Regions from separate parts of the Homo sapiens genome. Here region 2 is linked to region 1. The links are contacts of gene promoters, found by promoter capture Hi-C in human tissues and cell types (Jung and others, 2019). All regions are on one chromosome and are shown on one strand. The core of a region is centred on a gene start or on the middle of the fragment in contact, and the rest is flanking DNA. Distances in the headings are between cores, read along the strand shown. Region 1 holds the start of MS4A18 (membrane spanning 4-domains A18). Region 2 overlaps MS4A15 (membrane spanning 4-domains A15).

The links. The method cuts DNA at HindIII sites, captures the fragments that hold promoters and counts their contacts. A contact is called where the count stands out against the background at its distance.
Region 2: a contact is called between a fragment that was not itself captured here and the fragment with the promoter of MS4A18 in region 1, in 2 of the 25 tissues and cell types used here (liver and thymus).

What each region holds. Positions count from the first base shown.
Region 1 is chr11:60,721,650-60,727,839 of GRCh38, forward strand. It overlaps MS4A18 (membrane spanning 4-domains A18), which reads left to right and starts at 3,071. Exons shown (of 7, transcript NM_001354471.3): 1 at 3,071-3,145. The HindIII fragment of the contact is 14,477 bases long and covers 1,907-6,190 here.
Region 2 is chr11:60,768,881-60,775,124 of GRCh38, forward strand. MS4A15 (membrane spanning 4-domains A15) reads left to right here. Exons shown (of 7, transcript NM_001098835.2): 4 at 2,411-2,467; 5 at 4,512-4,604; 6 at 4,957-5,070. Among named protein-coding and RNA genes, the nearest start is that of MS4A10, 13 kb to the right of the region's middle. RefSeq lists enhancers at 5,560-6,191, 6,192-6,244. The HindIII fragment of the contact is 4,967 bases long and covers 1,964-6,244 here.

The sequences.
Region 1 (6,190 bases), core at 1,821-4,320:
TCCTCATCAAACCTAGCATAAAAAGTACACAAGTTTATCTGTTTCTTCAGGTCTTTATTTCCTTATGAAGACCATCACATCAAGCAAAACTTATATTAAATAAATGTGTATGCTTTTCTCTTGTTAATCTGTCTTTTGTCAAAAGGCCCTTGGCCATAAATGTAGTGATGGTTGAAGAAAAGGTATTTCTCCTCTCCTATGAACCTATAAAACAATACCACTCTTCCCACTAATTTTTTTTCATTTTGGAAAATAGAATTATTTTTTATTTAAAAATATTTATGTTAATATGTAATAAATATTTTATTTTAAAATAGATTAGTAAATCATTTTTAAGTATCTCCATTTTAATTTCTAATATGGTATAAATATCAACAAATTTAACCCACATAAACAAGTGTTCTTCGAGAGTACTTAATAACTTTTAAAAATGCAAAGGACTCCTGAGACCAAAGAGTGTGGGTCCTGAGACCAGAGTTTATGCTGTTATTCTCCTCCTCAAAGCCCTGCAAGGGTTCCTAGCATCCACAGAATAAATTCCTGACCATGGCATTCAAGACCCTGTTCAGCTGCCCTTCAATCCCTCTTCCCACAATGTCCAAATCCCAGTTGTCCAGCCTCTCTGTCAATGGCTCCTACCTTGAACTCACCAAATTCAGGCATCCATTCACTCATTCATCAAATGCCAAGCACCTGCCTCTGCAGGTAAGAACCACATCCCACCCCTTAGGAGCTCAGAAGCTCATAAGGAAGGATACACACATACTCGGATAACAGTGGGGCAAGGATGCAGGAGAGGTTCCGACAAAACGCTATGGGAGCCTGTAATCCCAGCACTTTGGGAGGCCAAGGCAGGTGGATAGTCTTAGGTCAGTCTGGCCGACATGGTGAAACCTGGTCTCTACCAAAAGTAAAAAATGGGTCTGGTGTGGTGGCAGCCACCTGTAATCCCAGCTAACCTGTAATCCCAGCTACCTGGGAGGCTCAGGCAGGAGAATCGTTTGAACCCAGAAGGCGGAGGTTGCAGTGAACCGAGATTGTGCCACTGCACTCCAGCCTGGGTGACATGAGGGTGAATGAGGGCGAATGAAGCTCCTTCTCAAAAAAAAAAAGGTATGAGAGTTTGGAGTAGGATGCTGTCAAGGGACAAAGCACTTATTTTTTTCAAGTGGCGGCAGGTTTCCTTAGGAAATAACTGTTTTTGGCTCTTTTGGGGTATGGGAAATGAAGCCCTCCTCCCATCCCAAGAAATGACCAGGTTGGGGAGGGTAAAACAGAGAATTGTTCTGCACAATATTGCAGGAAGCATCTGGAAATTCTGAGGGCAGCTCTGCAGGGGCCGGAGGACGAGGCTCTAGGATGGGAAGAAAAGGAAAGAGTGGAGAGGAAGAGGATGGGGCCTAGAAGCATGGAGGAAGGCCAGGGTCCTGGAGAAGAAAGGGCCCAGCTGAAGTTCTCTGTGACAGGAACGAGCAAGGGACTAAGATCAGAGACATCCAGCACTTGATGTTTAGTTCATTGCTCTGTTTTGGGGCATTGGCATCTTTCCCACCCCCTACACTTTAGTAAAATTCCGCTACACAGAACCACTTTGTGTGAGTAAAGCTGTAGGAAAATCAAGGAAGGGAGAGTTTTCTAGTGCTGCCATAACAAAGGACTACAAACTGGGTGGCTTGTTAATTCAACGTATCGTCTCACAGATCTGGAGACTGGAAGTCTGAGATCAAGGTGTCAGCAGGGTGGGCTCCTTCTGGGGCTGTGAAGGACTCCATTCCAGACCTCCCTGCAGGCTTCTGGTGGTCCGTGGGCATCTTGGCCACTCCTTGGCCTATAGATGCATCACTCCAGAGTCTGCCTTCATGTTCATGCAGGCTTCTTCCTGTGTGCAAGTCTGTGCAATATCCCCTTTTTACAAAAACACCAGTCATAGTAAATTAGGGCCCCTTTTAACCTAATTACTTTTGCCATGAAACTATCTCCGAATAAAGTCACATTCTGAGATACTAGATGAGGGGTTAAGACTTCAGTATATCTTTTTGGAGGGTTCCATTTCAACCCACAGCAGGAGATGTGTTCCAGGACTGAGTTCATGTGGGGTGGACAAACAGCCGTAAAAGGGGAGATGTGAGGGAGATCAGGAGTGTATAGGAAATTGAGCAAGGAAATTGACTATGTAAAGCGTAATCTACATGAAGAAATCCTCCAACTTATTGGGAATGGAGCTACTATATATAGGATGGCGGCTTTAGCCAGTTCATGTAAACTAAAGGAAAGGGTGATTCTATAAGGCTGGAAAAATTGGAGACACACACACACACAAACATCACAGGCAGCTCACATTTGGGGCATGTGGGTTCCAAAGAGATTTAGTTTGACTGTAAAGTTCAGGGAAGGCTTTGTGGAGGAAGAGGCTTCAGGATGAGCGTTGGAGGATGGGGTGAATCTGGACATGCTCCCACACCTCTGGTTCACACTCTTCTGGAATACACTGTGCCTTCAGTGCAGCTTTGATCCAGTCTTTCTTTCAATGTCCAACTTGAGTTAGATGTCCAATTCCATGTCCAGCCACTCGACAAACCTCCTAGGACCAGCCCATCCCTTTGACACATCTCCCAGCCACATCATCCCTGATGGTCTGACTGAATATTTGTTTGTTCCTATCCATACTTGCACTAGAGTTATCCCAACAGTGGTTATATTCTGTCTCGTCAACTCCTTGCAAATTCTAGAGCACCTCGTATCCTAGCATACCACCTAGCACACACCAGACACTCAATAAATGCTCACTAATTGCTTATAAGGGAAATCTATTGGCTCAGAAAATCTTGACCCACTTCTGGATTTCTCACTTTCTCAAAGAGAAACTTTGGAAGGAGATCCCATGGAATCCTACTTTAGCCAAGGCCATAAATACTCTGAGGGGCAAATAAACAGCGTGGATGCCAGAGAATAGACGTATTGACTCCAAATGAAACTGCAAAGAGGACTTTGGAGCTTGAAAGGGAAACCTAATTTGAGTTTATTTTCTAGATGATTAACATTAAATAGTGCCAATCCATCAGCTAGCACCAGAATTTCTAGATCAGGCTGCAGAAACCCACAGAGCCTGAAGAAAGAGCATCCAAAGACTTCCCAGGAGCACAAGGTAAGACTTCTGTGAATTCTTCCGCAAGACTCTGACAGAGCCTGGATAGCACCAGCAGAGACGTGGACCTAGGCGGTCCCTCGGAAGTGTCTCTTGAGAACCACAAGGAATCAGGGGTTCAGACATAGGGTAGTGCCCTCCAGCAAGACAGGCGTGCAGCCACCCATCCTTGGAGGTGCTGGGAGGCTGGGAAGTAACTGAAGAGTCACAACAGGTTCTCAAATTGAGCTCCTGTCTCTGCATGGACACAGCAATCTTAAGATAGAAGGCTGGAGACTCTGCTAGGCATTTTCTGGCTGCCTTGCTCCCTAAGCCCAGCTGTAGGCACACTGTGATCAGGTCTACTTAGGACCTCAATCTAGAACTGGTGGAATGGCTTCTGATGGAACCACTCTTTTTTTTCTTCTTCTTCTTTTTGAGACGGAGTCTCGCTCTGTCACCCAGGCTGGAGTGCAGTGGCGCGATCTCGGCTCACTGCAAGTTCCACCTCCCGGTTTCAGGCCATTCTCCTGCCTCAGCTTCCAGAGTAGCTGGGACTACAGGCGCCCGCCACCACGCCCGGCTAATTTTTTGTATTTTTTAGTAGAGACAGGGTTTCACCGTGTTAACCAGGATGGTCTCGATCTCCTGACCTCGTGATCTGCCCGCCTTGGCCTCCCAAAGTGCTGGGATTACAGGCAGAACCATTCTCTTTGTTCCTGACATTTTCCTGACGGGAGGTAGAATCTCAGGGGTCCCAGGAACATCCCTCATAGGGCCCAACTGTTTGTGCCAATTGTCAGGTCTACGGCTGTATTGTTTTTCACACATTAAAGAAGGAGTCCTCTGAAAAAAAGGAAGAGAGAAATGATTAATTTTTTAATATCATGAAGCAGAGTATAACATTTAGCACAGTATTCATTATGAAAATTGAAGGCAGGCAGACTATCAATTCTTGTATTTCAAATCTCAACTTCAGCATTTCCTAGCTGTGTGACTATGGTCAAGGCACTTAACCTCTCTGAGCCTCAGAGAGTTTGCCCGAGAAATGGTCATAACAATAATATATTGCTGGGGGAACTGCCTTATATCTACAGGGTTATGAGGCATCAACATCCAAGGATGCTGTAGTTGTTATTCTAAACCACTCTCCTGGGAAATCTGTTATTCTTCAAGAAAGCAAGGAATGTCAAGGTCTAATGCAGAAGTGGCTCACACTGCCTGCACAGCCTCCATTCATGCAGCTGAATGTTCCACCATCCATATGTCACTGGTAGAACATTTCTTCTGGGAAATGAAAACATAGTGAAATGCAAATAGCAGTCAGAAAAAAATAAATTTGAGTCTCAGATCTATTCCTGTGGGTTGCATAATTGTAGACAAGTTATTCCACTTTCAGAGCCTTGGTCTCCCTACTTTGCAAAGAGGCGGGTCGGATCAAAATGAGTGAGAAGACAGGGGTGAATGCCTTAGCCATCAGGTGTCAGACCAGTGACAGTTGTTTTTCCTATGGAAGAGTAGCATGGAAAGGGGCCTCAGAGACCAGCTAGATTTTAAAATAAGGAAAAAGCTGGGAATTTTCTGAAGCTTTATATAACCAATATTTTGAACTGTTGGGATCCAAGGAAAAAGAAGTGAAACCACAAAGGAGAAGTGTAGGGCATTTCTGCATGGAAGTGGTTCTCAAACTTCAGCAGCATGAGATTCACCTGGAGGGTGTGTTGAAACACAGATGGCTGATCCTTGCCCCTGGACTTTCTAGTAGCTCTGGGGAGGGGACCAAGAATTTGACTTTCCGACAAGTTCCCGGTGATACTGATACTGCTAGTCCAGAGACCGTACTTTGAGATCCTCTGCTATTAATACTAAATCTAATAGTTTGGGGTCAATTAGGAAAAATATTCACAACAATGGCCCCTCTCTTTTTTAAGATTGGGGTAACACTTTTATTTTATTTTATTTTATTTTATTTTATTTTATTTTATTTTATTTTATTTTATTTTTACTCTAAGTTCTGGGATACATGTGCAGAACGTGCAGGCTTGTTACATAGGTATACATGTGCTATGGTGGTTTGCTGCATCTATCAACCCGTCATCTAGGTTTTAAGCCCCACATGCATTAGGTATTTGTCCTAATGCTCTCCCTCCCCTTGCCCCCCAACCCTCCGACAGGCCCCAGTGTGTAATGTTCCCCTCCCTGTGTCCATGTGTTCTCATTGTTTAACTCCCACTTATGTTTGGTTTTCTGTTCCTGTGTTAGTTTGCTGAGAATGATGGTTTCCAGCTTCATCCACGTCCCTGCAAAGGACATGAACTCATTCTTTTTTATGGCTGCATAGTATTCCATGGTGTATATGTGCCACGTTTTCTTTATCCAGTCTATTGTTGAGGGGCATTTGGGTTGGTTCCAAGACTTTGCTAAACAATGGCCCTTCTCTTATGGGTGGTCTCTACCTTTCAACAAAGAACAAATGTTAACTGTTCCCTCTGTGCCAGGTTCTATGCTGGCAGTTTTCTCAATCTTCAAAACACCCTTTGGAGAAGGTGCCACTATTATGCACCTTTTATAGATAAGAAACTGACAGCGTATGCAACTTGCTCAAGGTCGTACAACTAATAAATGAAGGAACTGAGAAGTGGACTTAGGGCTGTCTGAGCTCTTAACCCTGATACTGTCTTGCTTTCGAGTTTACTTTATAGACGATTAATATTAAATAATGCCAATTCATCAGCTAGCACCAAACTCAAAATGTCCATTGACAATTTGGAGTGTTTCTCTCACTCAGGATGCAGCTGGGACAGGGGGATCAATTTATACTTGTGATTTAGTGAGGACAGAAAGCCTCCTGAGAACATACCTCTGGGGTCCTGCACACGTTATTTTGTGCCATAGGATTTGGTGTCTTGCCAGTAAGGACTGTATAATCTAAGTAAAGGGATAAGCCCACCAGCCACAACAATTAACAAGTAAAGTACACTAGTAACATTATCTCTCATCTGAATGGGATATCTTCGCATCTAATAATATCTTTAATGTTCTGAGGGCTACATGCCTACCTCCTCC
Region 2 (6,244 bases), core at 3,197-5,696, 49 kb after region 1:
GGCTGCCTCCAGCAAGAGCACAAAATCCACCAGAATGGGGTTCAGGGAGGACAAATGGCTGACACATCACAACCAGATCAGGATGGTCACCTGGCCATCCTTGGGGACAAGCTCTGGCACTTTGAATGGTCCCCCTGACCTGAAGGTGGAGGAAAATTTTGCAATCGGGAGAACCCATGGGGAGAAATCACAACAGGAAGAAACAAAGGGGTCACTTTCCCCTCTGAGCCCCCTCCTGCCAGGCTTTATCACAAATATGCCCAGTAAAGCTTCAAAAATGGGGGAAGGAACAAAAGCAAAAACTTGATTTTCAATCTCAGGAGACATGAGCGTCGGGAGATCCTGACAGGACACCTGTGAGCTCCAACATTTAATCATTGTGTTGGATCTTCACATCACTGATGTCTGGGGACCCCTGAAAGTACAGGGGTATTATGTGCATTTTTCTAGAAAGCAGGCTCATAGCTTTTCTTGGAGGCTCAAAGGAGACCTTAGTTGAACATTCCCAGAATTCCAGGATGGTGGATGACTTGGAAGGAAAGAGGCAGTCAGCCGGCATGCGGGTGCAGCCAGGCCTCCTTCTCTGTATGAACCTGGGCAAGTTGCTGCCTGTCTCTGGGGCTTGACTTTCTCATCAATAAGACATCATGCCTGTCTCCAGCCCAGAGAGCCGGATTCTAAACCCAGCTGCCCTCTTGACAACTCCGCTTGATGCTGAAAAGGCAACTCAGTATATCAAAATGAAACTCTTGATTCCTGCCATAGGCTTGTCCCCAGCCCTATCCCTCCTATCACCTCCTCATCTCAGCAAATGGCACCTCCAGCCACCCAACTGCCAAAGCTAAACATATCCCAAGAATTGTCCTAGAATCTTCTTTCCCTGCTGCGCATCCACCCCAGCAGCAGGTCGCGCCGGATCACCCTCCAGAGCATAGCCTGAGTGTGTCCGCTTCTTCCCACCCCCATGGCCACCATGCTGAGCTACACCTGCTTGAGACCTGTAGTGACTCATTCCTGGTCCTCTGTCTCCGTGTCACCCCAGGGCCTCCTCCACCCACCGCTGACCCTGCGGTCTCCCCAGCATGGCAGCTGAGTGCCCCCTGCAAATTGCAGACCTGCTAAGCTGCAGGCCCAGAGTGGCGCAGCACTGCTCAGCTCCACCCTCTCAGCTCGGCAGACGCAGGGCCAGCCCCACCTCAGTGTGTCAGGCGACTGCCAAGTACATAGGTGCCATGATGCAGGTCCCTGGGCTATCCTTATGGATAGCCTCGTGCCCGGCTGTTGTCATCCCAGCTCACAGAGACAACCCTGACACCCACCCAACCTCGAGTAGCCCCAGTGACCGCTATGACTTCATCACAGCTCTTAGCACCACTGTCTGTACTTTTCTTCACTGTTTGCTAAGTGTCAGTCTTCCCCAATTAGAATATAAGTTCCGGCCGGGCACGGTGGCTGATGACTGTAATCCCAGCACTTTGGGAGGCCAAGTCAGGTGGATCACGAGGTCAGGAGTTCAAGACCAGCCTGACCAATATGGTGAAACCCCGTCTCTCCTAAAAATACCAAAATTAGCTGGGTGTGGTGGCGGGCGTCTGTAGTCCCAGCTACTTGGGAGGCTGGGGCAGGAGAATCACTTGAACCCGGGAGGCGGAGGTTGCAGTGAGCCGAGATCATGCCACTGCACTCCAGCCTGTGTGACAGAGCAAGACTCCATCTTAGAAAATAAAATAAAAAAAAAAAAGCTCCTTGAGGGCAGAGATCTGGTCTGCCTTATTCAACTCTGTTATGTTCCTGGCACATAACTGCCACTCAGAAAATATTTGGTTTTTCTGTTTTTTGTTTTGAGACAGAGTCTCACTCTGTCCCCCAGGCTGGAGTGCAGTGGCACTATCTTGGCTCACTGCAACCTCCGCCTCCCAGGTTCAAGTGATCCTTGCTCCTTAGCCTCCCGAGTAGGTGGGATTACAGGTGCACGCCACTCTGCCCAGCTCATTTTTGTATTTTTAGTAGAGACTGGAGTTTCACCATGTTGGCCAGGCTGGTCTTGAACTCTTGACTTCAAGAGATCCTCCCACCTCGGCCTCCCAAACTTCTGGGATTACAGGCATGAGCTCACTCAGTTCAGCCTCACTCAGTAAATGTTTGATGAGTGAATGTTTGAAGGAACAATGCCTTCCCCATGAGGCCCTGATGATATGACGTCAATGAAAACACTCACCTTGTAAGCCACAGCCCTAGTTCTCTGGACAGGGGACACCCCTGCCGAGAGACCCCAAGGTGCCTGCCTGGCAGAGAAAGTGGCATCAGGAGGCTGTTGTCTCTCCCTGGCACCTCTTGACAGATCCCAAGCAGGGTCTGCCCTGCCCAGGGTCCTGGCTGAGGCCTCACCTGGTCCCCTCTCCCCATACAGTTCATCATCTCCGGATCCCTCTCAGTGGCAGCCGAGAAGAACCACACCAGTTGCCTGGTGAGTGTGAACAGGGGGACCCAGGGGCGGGGATGAAGCCACAGCTAAATCTCACTCTACCCTGCCCCTCCCATCCACTCACTCCTTCAGCTCATTCCCCAGCACTTCAGGGGACCTGCAAAGTGCCAGGGGAGGGGCACCACCCAGGCAGACCAGACGCAGACTGTGCATGTCCAGGAGAAGAAGACAGGGATACTCTTTCAATACACAAGCCAGGGTGGAAAGTGAGGTCCATGCTCATGGTCATTCCGAGAAAGGAAAGATGCTAGAAGATCTCCTGTAAGAGTCCTGCTGGGCCTTGGTGAGCAGAGAGGACTTAGAAATACCACAGGGAAAGCTGGAGAATGCACGGAGGAGTGTGGGCAGGGTCGCCACTGAAACCACGCCTGGCTCCATCCAACGAAGGCAAAGGTAGGAGAAGGAAAGTGGAAAGAAATCAGACAGAGAGATTTAATCCCATGATGGGGCTGGATTGTGGAGGGCTTGGTGCCTTCTGCAGGCACTGGGAGGCGATGGAGGCTTTGAACAGGAGGGTATGAGCTTTATGTCAGGCTCAGAGAACACGGCAATGAAGATCATGAACACGGCAGCGAAGGTCATGAACATAGCAGTGAAGGTCATGGCATTTATCTTCTGGTGCCTTGTAGACACCCGTAAAGCAAACTAACAAAGATGGTTGCCAAGCATGAGAAGTGCTGAAAGGAAGCAGGCAGGATAATATGAGTCATTCTAAGCTCAGCTGGGACGGTCTGGAGTCCCTGAGCAGGTATCACGGAACCGAGTCTTCACAGTTCAGAGGGCAACAACCACGGAAGAGCCCGGTCGGGAAACGCCATGGCTGGACAGGGGACCAGAGTGCTGGACCATCACAGGCAAGGGGTGGGCCGAGAGGGAGAGGCCGGGGAGGTGACTCAGAGCCTAAATGCCAAGTTCAGGATTTGTTTTAAGGACAATGAGAGACCACAGAGGCTTCAGCAGGGAATTCCTTGCCCTGTTTCCATACTTGAGAGGTATCCCAGGTGCTGGGCAGAGAATGGGTTGTGGAGGGGCAGGACTAGAAGCGAGGACTCTCCGGACCAAACCCAGTGTCCCCCGGGCTGTGAGCTCCAGGAGGACAAGACCTGACTTACTCTCTCCTGGACTCACAGCACTTTGCATAGTGCCTGGCATGCAGTAGGTGCTCAATAAAAGCTTTTGGCTTAATCAATTAATGGATTTCTTGTGAGGCTGTTCTGATCTCAATGACCTCCTGATTGCCATTTAAAAAGAAGAATCAGGGGTCTTTAAACCTGAAGAGGTCCTAGAGTCCCCAGCCCACCCATGAATGTTTCCCCTTGGGGCAGTTTAACCAGAAGGCTCCAGCTACGGGTCACGAGACCGTCAGGTTCGGGCTGCACGGGGATGGTGACCCCTGGGTGGCTGCCTGGACCACCCCAGGAGTCACTTGCCCTGCACGCTCTTTAGACCCTGGAGTCCTAGGCCTCTCAGCCCACCCAGACTTCAGACCTTCAGCTCCTGCCTCTCCTGTCTCCCCTGCCTGGTGCCCCACCAGTGTCTGCAGTGCCTCACTCCGCCAGCCACTTCCTGGAACCTCATAGAAATGAACTCAACCCCTCTCCCAACCAGGCCTCAGTGTCCACAGCAAAGAGCCTCCCCCAACCCATGCCCCTGAGCAGGCCTCAGCTGCAGCTTCTCCTGCGAGGTGCTGGGCCTGGGGGAGAGGGAGCCACAGTACGGGGTAAGCTGGAGGCTGCAAACTCCACCCAGAAAGGCTGTAAAGGAGGTGGTGCCCTTCTCCCTAGCAGCTTCCAAGAAGACGAGAGAAGGAAAGAGAGACAACAAGACCTCCTCCCGAGGTCCCAGGGGAGGAGAAGAGAAAAGGGGAGCAGTCAATGAGAACACAGCTGTGTGCAGGGTGGTGTGGCCACTGCCTCCTTGGCTGTGGGAGGCAGCGTGCTGGGGGCTGGGCAGCTGAGCCACAGCCCCTGCCTTTTCTCCTTCTCTTTGCCTATTCCCTCTGCTCCTGTCTCTCTGCTCTCTGCAGGTGAGGAGCAGCCTGGGCACCAACATCCTCAGCGTCATGGCGGCCTTTGCTGGGACAGCCATTCTGCTCATGGATTTTGGTGTTACCAACCGGGTGCGTTGTCAGATGGCCCTCGGGGTGGGAAAACTTGGAAAATGATGCAGCCATGTCCAGGAGGGTAGGGAGGTGAGAGTTTGCAGCGCCAGGACGTTGGCAGGGCCTGCCAGTCCCTATAGACCCCATGAATCCATGGATCCTCTGAGCCTTCCCCAAGATAGGCATCAGAAGGAGCAAGGAGGCAGCCTGCAGGGTGAAGGGGAGGGTGCAGGACTGGCGGCAGGGGGACTGGCTCCAGGCACAGCTCTGCTCCCAACTAGCCGCATGACCTTGGGCAAGTGGTTCTCACTCGGGGGACCCCCTTACTCTAGAACTCTGGGCTCACCTTTCTGTGGGTTTTGGTCCCCAGGATGTGGACAGGGGCTATCTGGCCGTGCTTACTATCTTCACTGTCCTGGAGTTCTTCACAGCGGTCATTGCCATGCACTTCGGGTGCCAAGCCATCCATGCCCAGGCCAGTGCAGTGAGTACCCCCACCCCCACCCCCACGTCCACTAAACCTGAGCTGAGCCTGTGTGGAAGGCAGTTGGCTGGGAGCGCGCTCTGCCTCCAGACCCCTCCCTCTGCACTCTGGGAAGCAATAAGAAGAGACAGCGCTAGGAAGGGTGTCCCATCCATGTCAGGGGGCCCAAAGAAGTCTTTGGGCTGGGCATGGTGACTCACACCCATAACCCCAGCACTTTGAAAAATGAGATGGGAGGATCTCTTGAGCCCTGGAGTTTGAGACAAGCCTGGGCAACATAAAAAGATCCTATCGCTACAAAAAAAAATGTATTTTTAATTAGCCATGTGTGATGGTACGTGCCTGTACTCCTAGCTAGTTGGGAGGCTGAGGCAGGAGGATCGCTTGAGCCCAGGAGGTTGAGGCTGCAGTGAGCTATGATCACACCACTGCCCTTCAGCCTGGGTGACAGAGGAAGGCTGTCTCTAAAACCAAAACAAAACCAAAGACGTCTTCGCAGGTCAGTGAAGACAGGACTGCTCTCCCCGTGGCACTGGGTGCACCAGCACCCACAGGGCCACTGCTCTGTGCAGCCCCACAGGCAGCCTTGCAGAATAGAAGGCCCAGGCTCAGGGCATGGGGGCAGTGCTGCACCCAGAGGAGTGAGACTTTTTGGAGTTCCCAGGCCACATGGGAGACAGGGGCATCAGGGAGGGCAGCATGATAGAGATGGAAATTAAGCTTTGATTTCCAAAAAAAATGGAGGACAGTGATGACAGAAAGGGGCTGGAGGGAGTGTTCAAGGCAGGGGAACCAGTTGGAGCAAAGGCTGCCTCGGGCAGGCAAATGCAGGCCACAGGGTGGGGTGCCCTTGGCAGGTGCACGATGGGATGCATTGAGGGTGAGGGGATTGAAGGTCTGAGCAGGGGAGTGAGCTGGTTGAGGGAAATCAGTCAAGAGGATTTGTCCAGTGCCGGAAGGTGGAGAGGGTGGACAAGCGGGGCTCGAGGCCAGGAAGCTGCAAGGAGGCTGGTGCCACGGTGCAGGCAAGAGAGAGCGAAGTCCTGAACCAGGCCAGGGCAGTCGGGAGAGAAAGAACAGCAGAGCCGGACGTGGTGGCTCATGCCTGTAACCCCGGCACTTTGGGAGGCCGAGGCGGGCAGATCATCTGAGGTCAGGAGTTCAAGACCAGCCT